Linked DNA regions of Homo sapiens: regions 2, 3 and 4 are each linked to region 1. Evidence: promoter capture Hi-C in human tissues and cell types (Jung and others, 2019). All regions are on one chromosome and are shown on one strand. The core of a region is centred on a gene start or on the middle of the fragment in contact, and the rest is flanking DNA. Distances in the headings are between cores, read along the strand shown.

Region 1 (3,681 bases), core at 863-3,362:
TTTGTGTGTGTCTGTGTGTGTGTGCTTGGTGCGTCGCACCCCAGAAGCGCCGCCGCGGGGAGTCCCCGAGGAACCTGCAGGACGCTCCGCTGCCTCTCCTCCCGGAACGCTCGGCACGCTCAGGTTACAGCCTGCGAGGGTGGGTACAGGGGCTCGACCCCCGAGGTTCAAGCTCAGAGCGGGAGAACCACTGGCACTCGCTCAAATCCCCAGAGGTGGTAGCATGAAAGGATGGGGAGTGGGTCACAAAAATACTTTTAACAATATCAGGGCTACCAGGAGAGTGGAGCGTAGTCCGCTGATTATTCTGTGGGTCTTTTCAGGCGAGCAAGGAGTTAACCTCGGAAGTTCAGGGATCGTAAAGGTTCTCACCTGGAAGGCCCCTCACCTGCGGTGCCCGAGGCGGATCCCGCCGAGGAAAAGACCCGGGGAAGAAGAGCTCCGGGTCTGGGCGAGCCCCTGGCGCCTCACGGGCGCTGTTGTTGGCCAGACTCCGACAACCAATAAGGCCCCGCGCCCCCAAGAGGGGAGGGGAGAGCGAGCAAGCAGCGAGCGCGGGAGAGCTAAGGGGAACAACATTTTTGTAAACGCTCTCCGAGATAATTAAGCTATCAATTACCCGGGTGGGAAATCAGCTGCGCTTCCCACAGCTCCACTGAAGGGCCGACTCCTCCGGGATTCGCGCAGGGAACCAGCAGGCAGCAAGCTGCTGGCGAACTTTTCTGATTAACTTTTCCGTTGGAGCCCCCCACCCACACCCATCTCCTCTCCTCTCCTTTTTCTTGCCTTTAAGTAATTATTATTAGCCCAGGGAGTGAGCTGCAAGGACAAACCGGCTCTCTGCCTGGAGGTGGGTAGAAAGGGAAGGCGGTAACGGGGGTAGAGGGAGGCTCTAAACGTGGAGACCTCGGAGTCGGAATCCCAGTTCTCAGCAACCACTCAAGTCTCTCCAGCCCTATTTCACAGATGGCCAGAACTGAGGCTCAGAGAAGGGAAGCGACTTGGCCAAGGTCACTCAGCCCATGCGGAAGCCACGCTTTTGCGGGTTGAGCGATTCCACACGGAACTACTCCATTCCTACTCTCATGAAAATCCATCTGGAAGGGCAGAACCCGCAACTCCGAGGCGAGAGCGAGGGGGCGGTGACGGCGGGTGGCCAGTGACGGTACCCGGAGAAGTGGGAGGCTCGACCTGAAACTGGCTTAGGATCTGGGATGCTCCGGCCCCTAGCCAGAGCACCTTCAGTGAATGGGGTCTCCGGCTTCCGGGATGGATCAAGCAGAGCTCCAGGTCGGGACTGAGAGGCAGAGGGGCAGGTTCCCACTGCGGGAGGGTTGGCACGCCCCCAGGCTCCCGCCGCGCGCTCTCCAGGACCTCCTCCCACATGCTCGTTTCCAACCACCTGTGCGACCTCTGGGCCCCTCCTCTACCCTCTGCCAACCCCACTCGGGGCAGCCCCGGGCAGGGATCCCCAGGGCGCCCCCACCCGTCCGGCATGACGCAGGGGCTCGGGGTTCCTTGGGATCTAGCGCGTGCCGGCGCCCAGCCTTACCCAGGGTGAAGAAGGGCAGCTCGGTGTTGTCCAGGTCGTCCTGCACCGCGATGCGCCCCGGCAGCTCGTTACGCACAAAGAGCAGGAGGCGCGACTCGGCGGCGGTGCCGGCAGAGCCAGGAGAGCCCGGGGACGCGGCGGCGGCGGCGGCTCCGGCCCCGGTCCCAGCCCCGGCCCCGGCGCGGGCGCCGCTCCAGCCGATGTCGCTCTCCCGCAGGGCGGGCAGTGTGGACACCGTGACGGTCTTCAGCCGGCACGGGCTGTCGGGCTCCCGCGAGGCAGCGGCGGTGGCGCCGGCCAGCAGCGGCGGCGGCGGCAGCAGGAGCAGGAACAGCAGCAGCAGCGGCAGCAGTGGCGGCGGCCCCGGGTGGAAGCAGAGCCTCGGCCGCCCCCGGAGCCCCGAGCCGGGGCCGGGGCTGAGCCGGGCGCCGGCGGCGGCCATGGCGGGAGGGGCTGCGGTGCTGCGGGCGGCGGCGGCGGTGGCGGCGGTGGCGAAGGAGGAAGAGGAGGCAGCTGCGGAGACGGCGGACGCCGAAGCGAACCAGGACGCCCGAGCTAAGGAGCGGAGAGAGCCGCTCGCCAGCAGCCCCCAGCTCCGGGCTCCGCCTCCCGATCGGCCCTGGACCGCCCCCCCGCGCCGCCTCCCGGGGCCCAGCCGCCCGTCCCCGATCTCCGGCTCCCCCCGCAGACCCCGAGCGTTTCGGAGGCTCCGCCCGGCCTCGTGCAAGTCCCAGTGGCTCCCTCCCCTTTCCCAAGATCCCCCAATTCCGCCCTCACAGCATTCTTTAGCCACAACACCCCTCCCTAAACTCCCCAAATTCCTAATACTTAGGGCCCCCTCGGGCCCCCCCAAGCCCCCCTGACTCAACCCAGTTCTCCTGGCTTCACCCCACCTTCGGCTCAACCCAGAGGCTGCACCTGGGGGCGCGCCTTGGCCCAGCCTTGCTCAAGGCCCCGCCTTCTTGGGGATAGGGAGCCCCCTGGATAGCCAAGACTTAACTTTGTCTCCCCTCAGGCCCAAGAACAAGTCCTTTCTCCAATCTCCTACCCTTTTCTAGTCTCTGAAATAACTTCCTGTAGCCTCAGAGCCCCCTTCCCACCCACTTGGCCACAACTCCTGCATTCATTCTCCCACTGCCCGCAAACCTTCCTCTCCCCTCCATCCAGGCCTTGTGCTAGCACTAATTGCTAATGGACAGAGGGGCGTCGAACTCCACCGTCTAACGCCGACCCCACAACTGACTGAAGCCGGGCTGTTCTGGCCCCCTAGCTGCCGCCCTGCAAGCCAGCCCACTCACGCTTTTTTATTTTGGATCCCTGCTCCCAGCTTGGAGCAGCTCTACTTGGCTGCTTCTGCTCTCTGTGTGAAATTCCTGAAAAGGGTGTGAGGTAGAGACCTACTATTCTGTCTGTCCTTGGCTCCCGGGTCTTTTAGATCCTCTGCCCAAGTCCCAGAGAACGGGAGTGCTCACCAATTCTTCACCTGCAGTCTTTCTAGACTCAAGTTGAGCTAGGTCCTCAGATTCAGCACCCTTTGGTCTTGGGCTGACTCTGTCTCTGACCCACATACCTGAGACCCTCCAGGGAGCGGACACCTCTGCATGGGTCAAGTGCCGTGCAGCCCCTTCCCCACTCCCCTACTTTTCTTCATCTTCCCTGTCTCTGTTTTCTGTTTCATCTCTCCATTCATTTCCTTCCTTCTCATCTTGACTTTAATCTTACAAATGCTTCTTTCCTATAATTTGTGAGCAACTTCTCATCTCTGTCTAGCTTACCCATCTGCACCTTTTGTGCTGTCTCTATGCATTCACTTTTCTCTTAGCTCTTCCCTCTTCTGTCTCATTCCCCTTTTCTATCTTTAACCCTTCATATAAATTGCTTTTCTCCTCTCTCATCATATATTTTTTAATAACGTTGGATAAAGGCAGAGCACTGAAAATAAGGAAAAAAGCAAAAGCTGTTTTGCGACCTTGGACTTAATGTGTTTAAAGCATTCTCCAAATGCTAGACATGTACGTATGTTAGCTTTTTTACATGACCATAATCCAAAAAGATGGATATTATGATTCCCATTTTCCATGTGAGGAAACTGAGATCAGGTGGTCAGGGAGGTGAAGGGATTTTCCAAG
Region 2 (3,681 bases), core at 301-2,800, 64 kb before region 1:
GTTATTCCTTCCTCCAGGAAGTGGAGCTTAATTGCCCTCTCCTTCAGTGTAGACTGGACTTAATGACTCACTTCTAATGAATAAAGTAAGTAAAGGGAAAAATAATTGTCTTGCAGTGGAAAAACCCAATGGACACTGCCCCAAATAAATGATGAAGACTAACATCAGCAATAAGTCAGGATGATATCAGAGACTCCCTGATATGATATGATACAATATGATAACAAAGGGACTTCACCTCTGGCCAGTGCTTTTCATAACTGTTAAGATAATTTTTAAAGGAAAACCTGAGAGACTGTCACATAACAGAGGAAAGCAAGTAGACATAAGGATTAAATGCAACACAGATTGAACACTGGGACAAAAAAAAGGACATTGGTGGAAACCGAGTAAAATCTGAATAAAGTCTATAGTATAGTTAACAGCAACATACAAATGTTGATTTCTTAGTTTTGACACATGTACCATGATAATGTAAGATGGTAACATTAGGGGAAGCTGGGTAAGTGGTATATAGAAAGTCTCTGTATAATCTGTGCCAATTTTCTATAAATCTAAAACATTTCCAAAATTAAAAGTCTAAGAAAAAAGATATAGTACTACAGAAGGGTTCTGAGAGATTAATTACTCCTGCAAGAAAGGTTTGGAGAATAGAGAAATAAAAAACAAGGCTGGCACAGTGGCTCAGGCCTGTAATCTCAGCACTTTGGGAGGCCGAGGTGGGTGGATTTCTTGAGGTCAGGAGTTTGAGACCAGCCTGGCCAATATGGTAAAACCCCGTCTCTATTAAAAATACAAAAAATTAGCCAAGCGTGGTCGTGGGCACCTGTAATCCCAGCTACTTGGGAGGCTGAGGCAGGAAAATTGCTTGAAGCTGATAGGGGGGTGGTGGTTGCAGTGAGCTGAGATTGTGCTACTACGCTTCAGCCTGGGCAACAGAACGAGACTCCATCTTAAAAAAAAAAAGGAAAGAAAGAAAAGAAAAGAAAAAAGAAAAGAAAAGAAAAATCAGAGACAGTGTAGTCAGAGGGAAACATAGGTCCAGAATGAGAGAAAATGTGCTCAGAGCACTTTGTGTATTTGATATGATGGCAGAGCACGCTGGGCAGTGGGGAATGAGGCTGGGAAATGAAGACAATACTGTAAAGAATCTTCTACGTTAGGCTAAGAATGTTAGCAAGTTAGCAAAGCATTTAGAGCAGAGAAAGCTTGTCATATATGAACAAAATGTCTAGAAGTTCGGTGAGCTGGGAAAGACATGCAGCAAGTTATGTTCAGTACTCAAGTCACAAAGTGGAGATAACAGCACGTTAAATCACAATTAAGCCATCCTAGGGGACCCTGCTTTGGCACGACCGCCATGTTGCATGGTGGATAGGTGAAAAGGGGATTGCTTTATATGTTTTTACTTGAGAGACTGAAGGTGGAAGCCTGCTTGCTCTCCTTGCACCCTCAACGTCTACACTGCTACTCTCTTTAACAGAAGCGCATGACAGAGCATTTAGGAAAAGATATGGGCAACTGGGAGCAACTGAGAAATGAAGTAACAAAAAACTTAAGATACATCCATGATGGCAAATCTAAGCTATAAAGAATTGGTAGGATTAAGGAAAAGAGAATACGGCAATCCCAGCTCAAAAACCTTAATACCTACCCAGTGTCTCCAGAGCAAAATTCAAACGTCTAAGCATGGCGCTCAAGGTCTATTATAACTTTCGAGAAACTTTTTGTATTTCACTTCTTCCTTTCTTATTGCATTTTACCACAAGTATTCCAATACCACATCTTTTAAAAACTGAAACAAAACAAAAAAAATCTGAATTCCCAAATCTCATGCTTATGCTAAGCTGTTTTCTCGGCCTAAGCTGCCTTTACTTGAGTCAAAATCCTACACTACCATTCAATACTTCATGCATATATCACTGCCCCCAGGAAACCTTGCCTGACTACACAAACAATAAAAACTGTTTCTCCCTTCAAGTCTCTACAATTTTCAAATTTCTCTCTATACAAAATGAAAAGGCTTCTCTGCATATATAGGTGGCCAATCATAACCTTTTGGTTAATGAGTTATGAGGTGGAATCTTTGGAGGCACTTCTGGAAAGGTTTTGTTGTAATAAAGGAAAAAGTTCACAGGGAAAGCTCTGTTTTCTGCCCCTTTTCTTCATGTGTGCTTTAGATGCTATATTAGTTCATTAATTTGGATGGGGGGTGCTATAGCCATCTTGGAGCCCCAAAGAGAAGGCCAAGACAACCAGAGAGATTCTAGTCCTGCACACTGACATCTGGAGCTGCAAAGTCACCTATCACCAAAGCTTTTAGTCACGTGAGTTTATTAAATGTCCTCATCGTCTAAGCCCCTGGGATACAGATAAAAATGTCCTAAGTAAACACCGCTTACTATTAATATCTTTTTAATTGAATCAACTGTGAAGATTTCCCAACATTTGAGTCCATTTTGAGGAGGAAAACCTGGACTTCTCAATATACCTTTATCAGAGAGAAACAGTCCCTTGAATCTCACAGGCTGTGTCTTCAGCCCTGGGCTGAGGAGAACACAGGTCAGACCCCAGAAAACAATTACTCTCTCATGAGAATTTCTAATCTGGCCCAAGAAACGCTATTCAAGGCCAAGTCATAATCTTCTTATGACTTCATCTACCTTTAAAATGTCAAGTACTGATTTCCGCTGTACTTTCCCTGAGAGCAATTATTAGTTTAATGAGGAACATGGGCCACCATCTGCATCCCAAAACTTGTGACACTTGAGAGATATTATCTCCACCAACCTGGAACCTCCTACACATTAAACACACAGAGGTCAAACAAAATATTCTCCTCACATTTTACAGTCCAAGAATCAGAGCTGAGCTAATGAGACCAGAAAGAATCCACAATTGGCCAACAGTTGTTGAGCTTCCAATGCACAGGGATTGAGGCACCAAGGGATAGTAGACAGAAGTGGACAAAGAGTGGTAGGAGAATTACCAACTACTGAACTGGGAAAGCCATCCCAAGCACTTTATCTTTAGTGTTTCTTCTAGTTTATCCAATAATTCTAGAATTTAAGGATTAAGATATCCATTTTATTGAAAAGAAACTCAGAGAAACTAAGCAAATTGTTCAAAATTTCATCGCTCGGCCAAAAGGTAAAGACAACCCAAGTGTCCATCAACAGATGAATGGATAAATAAAATGTAATATACACATACAATGGAATACCATTTAGCCATAAAAAAGAATGAAGCTTTGACATATGCCTCATCATGGATGAAGCTTTAAGACACTAGGCTAAGTGATAGAAGCCAGATACAAAAAGATGGAGTAAGTGACTTCACTTACATGAAACATCTTGAATGGATAAATTCATAAGGACCGAAAATAGATGAGAAGTTATCAGGGTTGGGAGGTGCATGGAATGGGGAGTTATTGCTTAATGATTGCAGAGAGTTTTTATTTGGGGTCATGAAAAAGTGTTGGAAATACATGGTGTTGATGGTTGCACCACACTATGAATGTAATTAATGCTGCTAAATTGTACACTTAAAAATGGTTAAAATGGCAAATTGTATGTTACATATATTTTACCACAGTAAAAAAAAAATCACAGCACTAATAAATGTTTCAACAGCAATTTGAGACCTCACTCTGGCTCCAAAATCCAGAGTCTTTCTAGCAAA
Region 3 (3,681 bases), core at 388-2,887, 49 kb after region 1:
TGAGCCACCCATCCGGCCTAACGAGACTTATTTTTACTCAACTAGATGGCGTTCATTCATTTGCTTACTCAGCTGTGCCAGGAATTAAGTTGGGCACTGGGAATTCCAAAACCAACAAGACATTCTCTGTCATCAGGGAACTCACAGCCTAGTATGAGAGATAAACAAATGAACATGAAATTATAATTCAGTAACAAAGAATGAGTGTTATGGCAGAGGGAATGTGTAAGAGCTTGGCAGGGTATCCAGCAGGGATACCTAACTAAGCCCCACTGGGGAAGGCATCCGAACAGAGGGGACAGCTGAGCTGAGTTCAATGAGCCAGTAGGAATTAGGTTGATATAAGTCAAATCATTTAGTGTTTATGACAACTCTGAAAAATAAGTATTTCCATTTTACAGATGTGAAGCCTAAGTCTCAAAGAGTTATCCAACATCATCCAGAAGTGTGGGGACCCCACAATATCCAAGGGAACCTGGCCCCAAAACTCATGATCTTTCCCCTTTACTGTGCTGCCTCTTCAAGACTGAGAATCTGTCCTTGATGGGATTTGTTCAGGTACCATGTCAGGATGACTGTCTACGTAATGGAAGCCCTGTCGCCAGCTTTTCAGCTTCCTTTCAAATTCCCCCAACTCCTTCTTTTTTCACGCAGCAACTTGTCTCTTTCCATGGAAATGCTGGGGATTTAAAGAAGGCGGGGACTCAGCTTTGCTTCCACTGCGCAGCCCCAGATACAGGCTGCAGGAGTCCCAGCCACCTCCCTCTCATCATGCTTTCTTCCAGGGACAGAGTTATGGCCCCTAGGAGAGGTTTTGTTCCACCGGAACAGTCAGTTACTAATGAGCTCATGCTGCTTTTCCACCCCTGGGTCCCCAGCCATCCTCCAACCCTGATCTCCTAGGTCACCTTCATCTGGCAGCTGGAGACTGGTGGGAGTGTGTGTACATGTGGTGCTTAGCCTAGACGCTTCAGCATGCCCGTAGATTTCCCATGAATTCACTGGGTATGAGCCAGCCCCAAAGGAGAGGGCTTTAGCCTCTTGGACCACTGCCCAAAACAGACAAGCCTAGCCTCAGTACCTCAGGCCCTGTGGTTCCCTCTCTTCTGGGGAAAAGCCAATTTCTGATGGGCCACTAAGCTCTGGTCTTTTTCTGCCAGAATCCCAGGACCCTCTGCTAATCCGGTTCCTATTGCACAGATGATTGCATAATACCACAGGAATTCAAATGGGGAACATCAATATCATAGGAGTGAGCACTTACTGGGAACTTACAAGATACTCTTATATACTTTATTTGGGTGACTGTATGTGCTGCTTGCAATAACCCATAAGGTAGATACAATTATTATCTCTGTTTTATAGTAAGAAAATTAAAGCTTATGGGGGTATGTAATTTGCCCATCTTCCTACAATTGAAAGTGATAGGGACAGGATATTACCCTAGGAGCCTGACTTCAGAGCCTGTGACCCTAATGACCAACATGCAGGGAGAGAAGCTGTTGTTTGAGCACCCACTGTGTGCCAGGCACTGGGCTGAACACTGTGCATGGATTAACTTAGTGACTCCTGCCAACTAGCCTCTGAAGTATGTACTATTATTATCCCTATCTTACAGAAGAGAAAACTGAGATTTAGAGAAGTTACGAGATTTTCTGGGTCACACAGTGAGCAAGTTGCAGATCGGGATTAAAGTCCCAGACAGTTGAACTTCTGAGTACGCTTCCCTTGGCACCATGTTATACCATCTGTGCTGGGCTGAATAGTGTCCCCCCAAAATTGAATAATGTCCCCCCAAAATTCGTGTATACCCTGAACATTAGAATGTGATCTTACTTGGTATTACTTGGTATAGGGTGTTGTAGAAATAATCAAATAAAGATGAGGTCATACTGCATCAGGGTAGACCCTAAATTCAATGACCAGGATTTTTATAAGTGAAAGGAGAGGCGGATTCAGAGAAAAAGACACAGACACACACAGAGAGAAGACAGCCATGTGAAGACACAAGCATAAATTGAAGTGACACAGCTACAAGCCAAGGAATGCCAAAAATTGCTGGTAACCACCAGAAGTAGGAAGAGGCAAAGGGGAATTTTTTTCCAGAGACCTTGGCGGGAGCATGGCCATGCCAACAACTTGATATCAGACTTGTAATCCCTACATCTATGACAGAATAAATTTGTGTTATTTTAAGCCACTAAGTATGTGCTAATTTCTTATGGCAACCCTAGGACATTGATGTGCCATTGGAGTAGCCTGTTACCACTTTGAGAACAGGAAGCTCACTTTGATGCTCCCTATAAGATTTTTTTTTGGCTCCAAGAAATATGATTCCATTAATCTTAATTAAACAAAAAGAGGGCCCTGGAGATCCTGAGATGAACAATTATGGGAAGCCACGGCCATCGATGGGGTCAAGCAGCATGAATCCCTCCATCATGACATTGGGTTCTCTGGAACAGGGGAGAAGGGCCTGAGTTTTCCAGCAAGGTGGCATTGGACGAATCCATTAATCTTTTAGACTCAGTGTTCATATCTATAAAAGGGGGATAATTCTATCCTTGCAATGGCAAAGGCTGAATAAAGTAGTGGATATACCATGCTTCACACATAGCAGAGCAAAATATATGCATTAGACTTCCACCCCCATTCTCAGGGGAGTTCCTTTGAAAGTGGTGGTATTTTTGGAAAGATGTTCCCAATAGGTGAGGGGCCAAGGCTCTTTGGGCTTTAGGGCAGATCCGTTGGGTTCTATGGGGATGTTTGTTCAACAGACCTGTGCTTGTGCTGGAGGGGTGTTAGTGAGGATTCTGCAGATCAATGTAGCCAAACATTTACTGACCCTTCACTATGTCCTGGGCACAGGGCTAGGGGCCATAGTAGGAGAGGAAACCCCCAAAAGCTGTGTGCCAGATTGGGTTTGCTTGCTCTGCGGTGGAGTTTAGCTGTACCTTTCTATATTTAGATTCTATCTTTGTCAAGCAAGATGACTTGTTTGACAGGGCTCTGGTTTTTCATCTCTGAAAAGCTACTCATCCACAGAGCTTGGGATTGAGGGGAGAGGAAAGGGGGAGGAGATCTGGCTTCTCTCCCCAACTCTGAACAGATGGGATCAGAATAGGGCCCTTCTACATCCCTAGCCAAGATGCCTGGGCCTTGGCAGTTGTCCCAGGACATAGACAATGGGGTCTGATGGCAGCTTCTCAGACCTGGCTTTCCCTGGGCAAGAGGCTTTTCCTGAGGCTGGCAATGCCATTTCTTCAGACTCAGAAAAGGGATTTAGGGAGAGGGAAATGGGGACTGCAATGAGGCAACTCTTGACAGCTTACCCTGGAAAACTAGGACACAGCTTGTGGGAGCCCAGCCCAGCAGCTCTGCCATCTGACCCTTCTTCTGCCTCTGCCAGGACTACTGTCCTGGAAGACAGGCAGAAATGGCCCAGGGACACTGGTCTCCTGGGTGCTGAAAAGAGAGACCAGGGTCTGGGAAAAGGGGTGAGGAGTGAGGGGAGAAGGGACAGGTTGCTGGGATGGTGCAGGTAGCTAATCTGGTATTTCTCTTTTTGGTGAAGCAGGGCTTTGGGGATAGGCAGGAGCAGGTAGCTTCTGAGCACAGCCACCATAGAAAAGATTTAACATTAGGTAGGGGAAGAAGTTTATGTGCTCATACATCTTAGAT
Region 4 (3,681 bases), core at 719-3,218, 45 kb before region 1:
TTCACAAACAACTTCCACTTGCAGCTCCTTAGTTTCTTGCTTGTAAATAGAATGCCAATCCCAGGTCCCAGCCTGACCACCAGAAAAGTGAGCTTGAATAGAAGATGATGTTCTGGAAGCTAACGATCCGCAAGTCAGCAGACTTTAAGCAGCAACTAAGGATAAGGGATTCAAAAAACTAGTGTAATGTTTATGTAGCAATTCTTCATCACCCTTGAAAAGGCACAGCAACAAAAATAGCTTCCAGGGATCTAGAAGTCTTATCAAATAGGGGGGTTTTGGAAATATACCAGTGGGTGTGCATGCACATGCGCACACATGTGCATGCACACACACACATTCACAATTTAATCTTATACTCAATACAAACAAAAGAAGTTATCCATTGGAACAAAAACACAAAAAGAATGTTCCAGAAACATTGCCATGGTATTGAAATTGAAGAAAATGATCATACCCATTTTCCATTACAAAATCTGTATCTAATTTTAAAGTTTAAAGAACAAACGAATCTGCTGTGTTTGAGTAGGATAAGCATAGAATTATACTTTCCATCTCCCTTCTTAATTTTTGCAATGTGTGTAACAGGTGAGTTTTTCCATTATCATTGAGTTAACACACAGGGGTGAGAGACAGTATCCTAATCTTGTACTGAAAGGTGAAGGTAAACAACTTTCTTTTTTTCTATACTATTCGTCAGAACTCCCTTAGTTTCCAGGGGACCAGAATAACAATTGTCATGTGCTGTTTAGAAGAACTGATCTGAAAAACTCATATATAAAAATAACATACATTTTTAACATGTTGGTTTATAAATATAAAAATCCCATTATCACAAAGCCACAGTTGGCCAAGTCCCCACTGACAAAGGATTACTGTGCCTTTAACACAGTATGAAGAACAATCATTTATAAGCTTAAGGAACGCCCTGAACCTTGATTGCAGGTGTTGGCACAGAATAGTTCTGCTTGAACTTAGGTCAAGTAAAACGGGGTAAATTGATCTAAATCATCATTTACTTAAGGGAAACTAAAGTGTTGCTAATGAAGATAGAAAATCTTACAACAAACACAAGATAATACTTGCCAACAAAAGCACAGGCCAGCCTGGATTAACAAATTCTCTAAGTGTTTTTCCCCATCATGGCTATTTGTTAAACCTGGAAGAGTGCTATTCAAATGCAAAGCTCTTCTACTTGTTGTTAATTATATTATTTTCTTTTTCTAGGCACCAGTGATCCTGATTGCTCTTGGAACCTCTTGGGAAATAAGCCTCCATGTAACATGATTATAATGATTCATTATATTTGGGTAGGTTTTGTAGCTTAAAAGTGCTTTTCCATCTATTTTTAATATTATCATTATTAATAATAATAGCTACCATTTATTGTGTGCTTTTCAGGGGCCAGGCACCATTCAGTGAACAGCAAACACAGTATCTCTACTCTTTACGATAACCCTGCAAGGAGGTTGCAATACCCATTTCATATGGTAGAAAACTGAGGCTCCTACAGGTCAAATAGCCTGCCCAAGATCATATAGACCCTGCCTGCCTGACCCCACAATCCAGGCCATTTTTGCTTTAAGTATGACATATTATATGATCTTAAAGTCATCTGTCTACTATCTATTATCTGTCATTCTTTTAGACTAAACACTCTTTGAAGGCAGAAACTATATCCTGTTCAGAGTCATAATCTCACTACCAAGCACAGTCCCTGGGACACTGTAGGCACTTGATGAATACTTGCTAAAAGAATAAATGAACACATGAGTAAGTGAGTGAAGTCTTATAGGTTCTTCTACTGAGGCAGGAAGATCATTTGGTACTTTTCCTGTTAATAAACTGGGATGCAGAGGCTTTAACAAGAGAATTGATTTCCCTAAGGGCACACACTGTTAAGCATTAGAGGAGGAACCCCATCCACACCCTTCTAACTTCTGGTCTTTTGGGGATTCCACAGGCCCAGGTTGCCTCTTTATTACATTAAAAAAAAATTCATATTTGTCATGGCACGCTAGTTAACAAGCGATGAGCGGGAAGCTACAGGTTGGCCCTAAGTCCAGGTATATTACCCACCTCCCTCCACACTGCCACCCTTCTATTAACCCCACTTGGAAGCCCATGAATGATTATGAATATAAATGTGAAGGCTCCTCCTTTGAGGTAGATGAGGGCGGGGAAAGAGAAGATGGAGAACAGACAATTCAGACAGCCAAATTCAATTTGAGGGAATTTGGTTCAGTGCTTTCCATTAACAACACTCAACGAAAAATATAATTCCCAGGACAAAAGAAGAAAAGGGAAAAAACAACAAAAAACAAAAGCAACTTTTCATCATGCACAGTCAATGGAAAACAAATCAATCACCCTGTTTCTCCCTGGCCCAGCAATGCCTCGGTGAACACCAAAGGCACACGGCCTCTAAGCTGTTGTTGAGTCCTCAGGGTGGTACTGGGAGAAAGAAGTATCTGAAAAAGAAATAGATGGCCAAAAATGTCATCCATGTTCTAGCCTTCTTCAATCTTCCAAAGAACATGTTACAGTTTAGAAAGCACTTTACCTAATTCAGTCATCTGATACTCACAAAACCTTTTTAAAGTAGGTACTATTATAGCTCCTATTTTATTAAATATAAACAAGAAAATGAGTCAGAGTAATTAAGTAATCTGCTTAAGATCAGGCAGCTAATAAGTGTCCAGAAATTAAATTCAGGTTCCTTTAACCCCCACATGTCAAACTCTTTTTTTTCCCCCTAGAGACAGAGTCTTGCTCTGTTGGCCAGGCTGGAGTGCAGTGATGAAATCATAGCTCTCTCAATGCAGCCTCACACTCCTGAGATCAAGTCATCCTCCCACCTCTGCCTCCTAAGTAGCTGGGATACAGGCATGAGCCACAACTCCTGGCCTAAGCTTAAATTCTACATTATCAAATGCCCCCAACAATCCCAAGGGAGGGCAAAAACTAAACCCAGTTGGATGTCCCTACATTATTAAATAACCACAACAATCTGAAGGGAAGGCCAAGACTAAATCCAGTTGGATGTCCCTACCTTATCAAATACCCCCAACAGTCCCAAAGAAGGGCCAAAATTAAACCCAGCTGGATGTCCCTACTTCATCATATACCCAAAACAATCCCAACAGAGGGCCAAGACTAAACCTAGCTGGATGTCCCTACATTATCAAATACCCATAACAATCCTAAGGGAGGGCCAAGAGTAAACCCAGCTGGATGTCCCTACATTATCAAATACCCATAACAATCCCGAGGGAAGGCCAAGACTAAATCCAGTTGGACATTCCGCACACAACTGGGGATTTTTCATTCCAAGTCAAACTCATCCCAACATAAAAACTAAAAGGGTCTATATATTTTTAATATGGTAACATCCCTCCCTGCCTTGCCTCCCTAATCCAAGCAAAACTTGAACAAAAATAGCAAGGCCTCAAATTCTCGTAGTGCTATTCCTGTAAAGTGTCCTTTCACCTGCTGACAGCCAGTTGGGGAGCAATGTTTCCAAGGAATGTTTCCAAGGAAGTTAAAAACACAAACTTAGGAGCTGGATAACGTGGATTTGAATCCCATCTTCCCCCCAATAGTTGTGTGACCTTCAGCAAGGCTCAGAATCTCCTTGTGCCTCAATTTCTTGATCTGTAAAGTCAGAATAGAGTCACATCT

The links. The method cuts DNA at HindIII sites, captures the fragments that hold promoters and counts their contacts. A contact is called where the count stands out against the background at its distance.
Region 2: a contact is called between a fragment that was not itself captured here and the fragment with the promoter of ASTN2 in region 1, in 8 of the 25 tissues and cell types used here (H1 embryonic stem cells, adrenal gland, bladder and 5 more).
Region 3: a contact is called between a fragment that was not itself captured here and the fragment with the promoter of ASTN2 in region 1, in 1 of the 25 tissues and cell types used here (adrenal gland).
Region 4: a fragment that was not itself captured here is called in contact with the fragment with the promoter of ASTN2 in region 1 in 9 of the 25 tissues and cell types used here (H1 embryonic stem cells, adrenal gland, aorta and 6 more).

The regions. Positions count from the first base shown.
Region 1 is chr9:117,412,945-117,416,625 of GRCh38, forward strand. It overlaps ASTN2 (astrotactin 2), which reads right to left and starts at 2,113. Exons shown (of 23, transcript NM_001365068.1): 1 at 1,553-2,113. The coding sequence starts at 1,994. The HindIII fragment of the contact is 9,596 bases long and covers 1-3,681 here.
Region 2 is chr9:117,349,599-117,353,279 of GRCh38, forward strand. All of the region lies in intron 1 of ASTN2 (astrotactin 2), which reads right to left. Among named protein-coding and RNA genes, the nearest start is that of ASTN2, 64 kb to the right of the region's middle. The HindIII fragment of the contact is 3,423 bases long and covers 1-3,262 here.
Region 3 is chr9:117,462,040-117,465,720 of GRCh38, forward strand. The region is part of intron 1 of LOC105376242 (a long non-coding RNA gene); the gene reads right to left. Among named protein-coding and RNA genes, the nearest start is that of ASTN2, 49 kb to the left of the region's middle. The HindIII fragment of the contact is 4,274 bases long and covers 1-3,681 here.
Region 4 is chr9:117,367,967-117,371,647 of GRCh38, forward strand. The region is part of intron 1 of ASTN2 (astrotactin 2); the gene reads right to left. Among named protein-coding and RNA genes, the nearest start is that of ASTN2, 45 kb to the right of the region's middle. The HindIII fragment of the contact is 5,052 bases long and covers 1-3,681 here.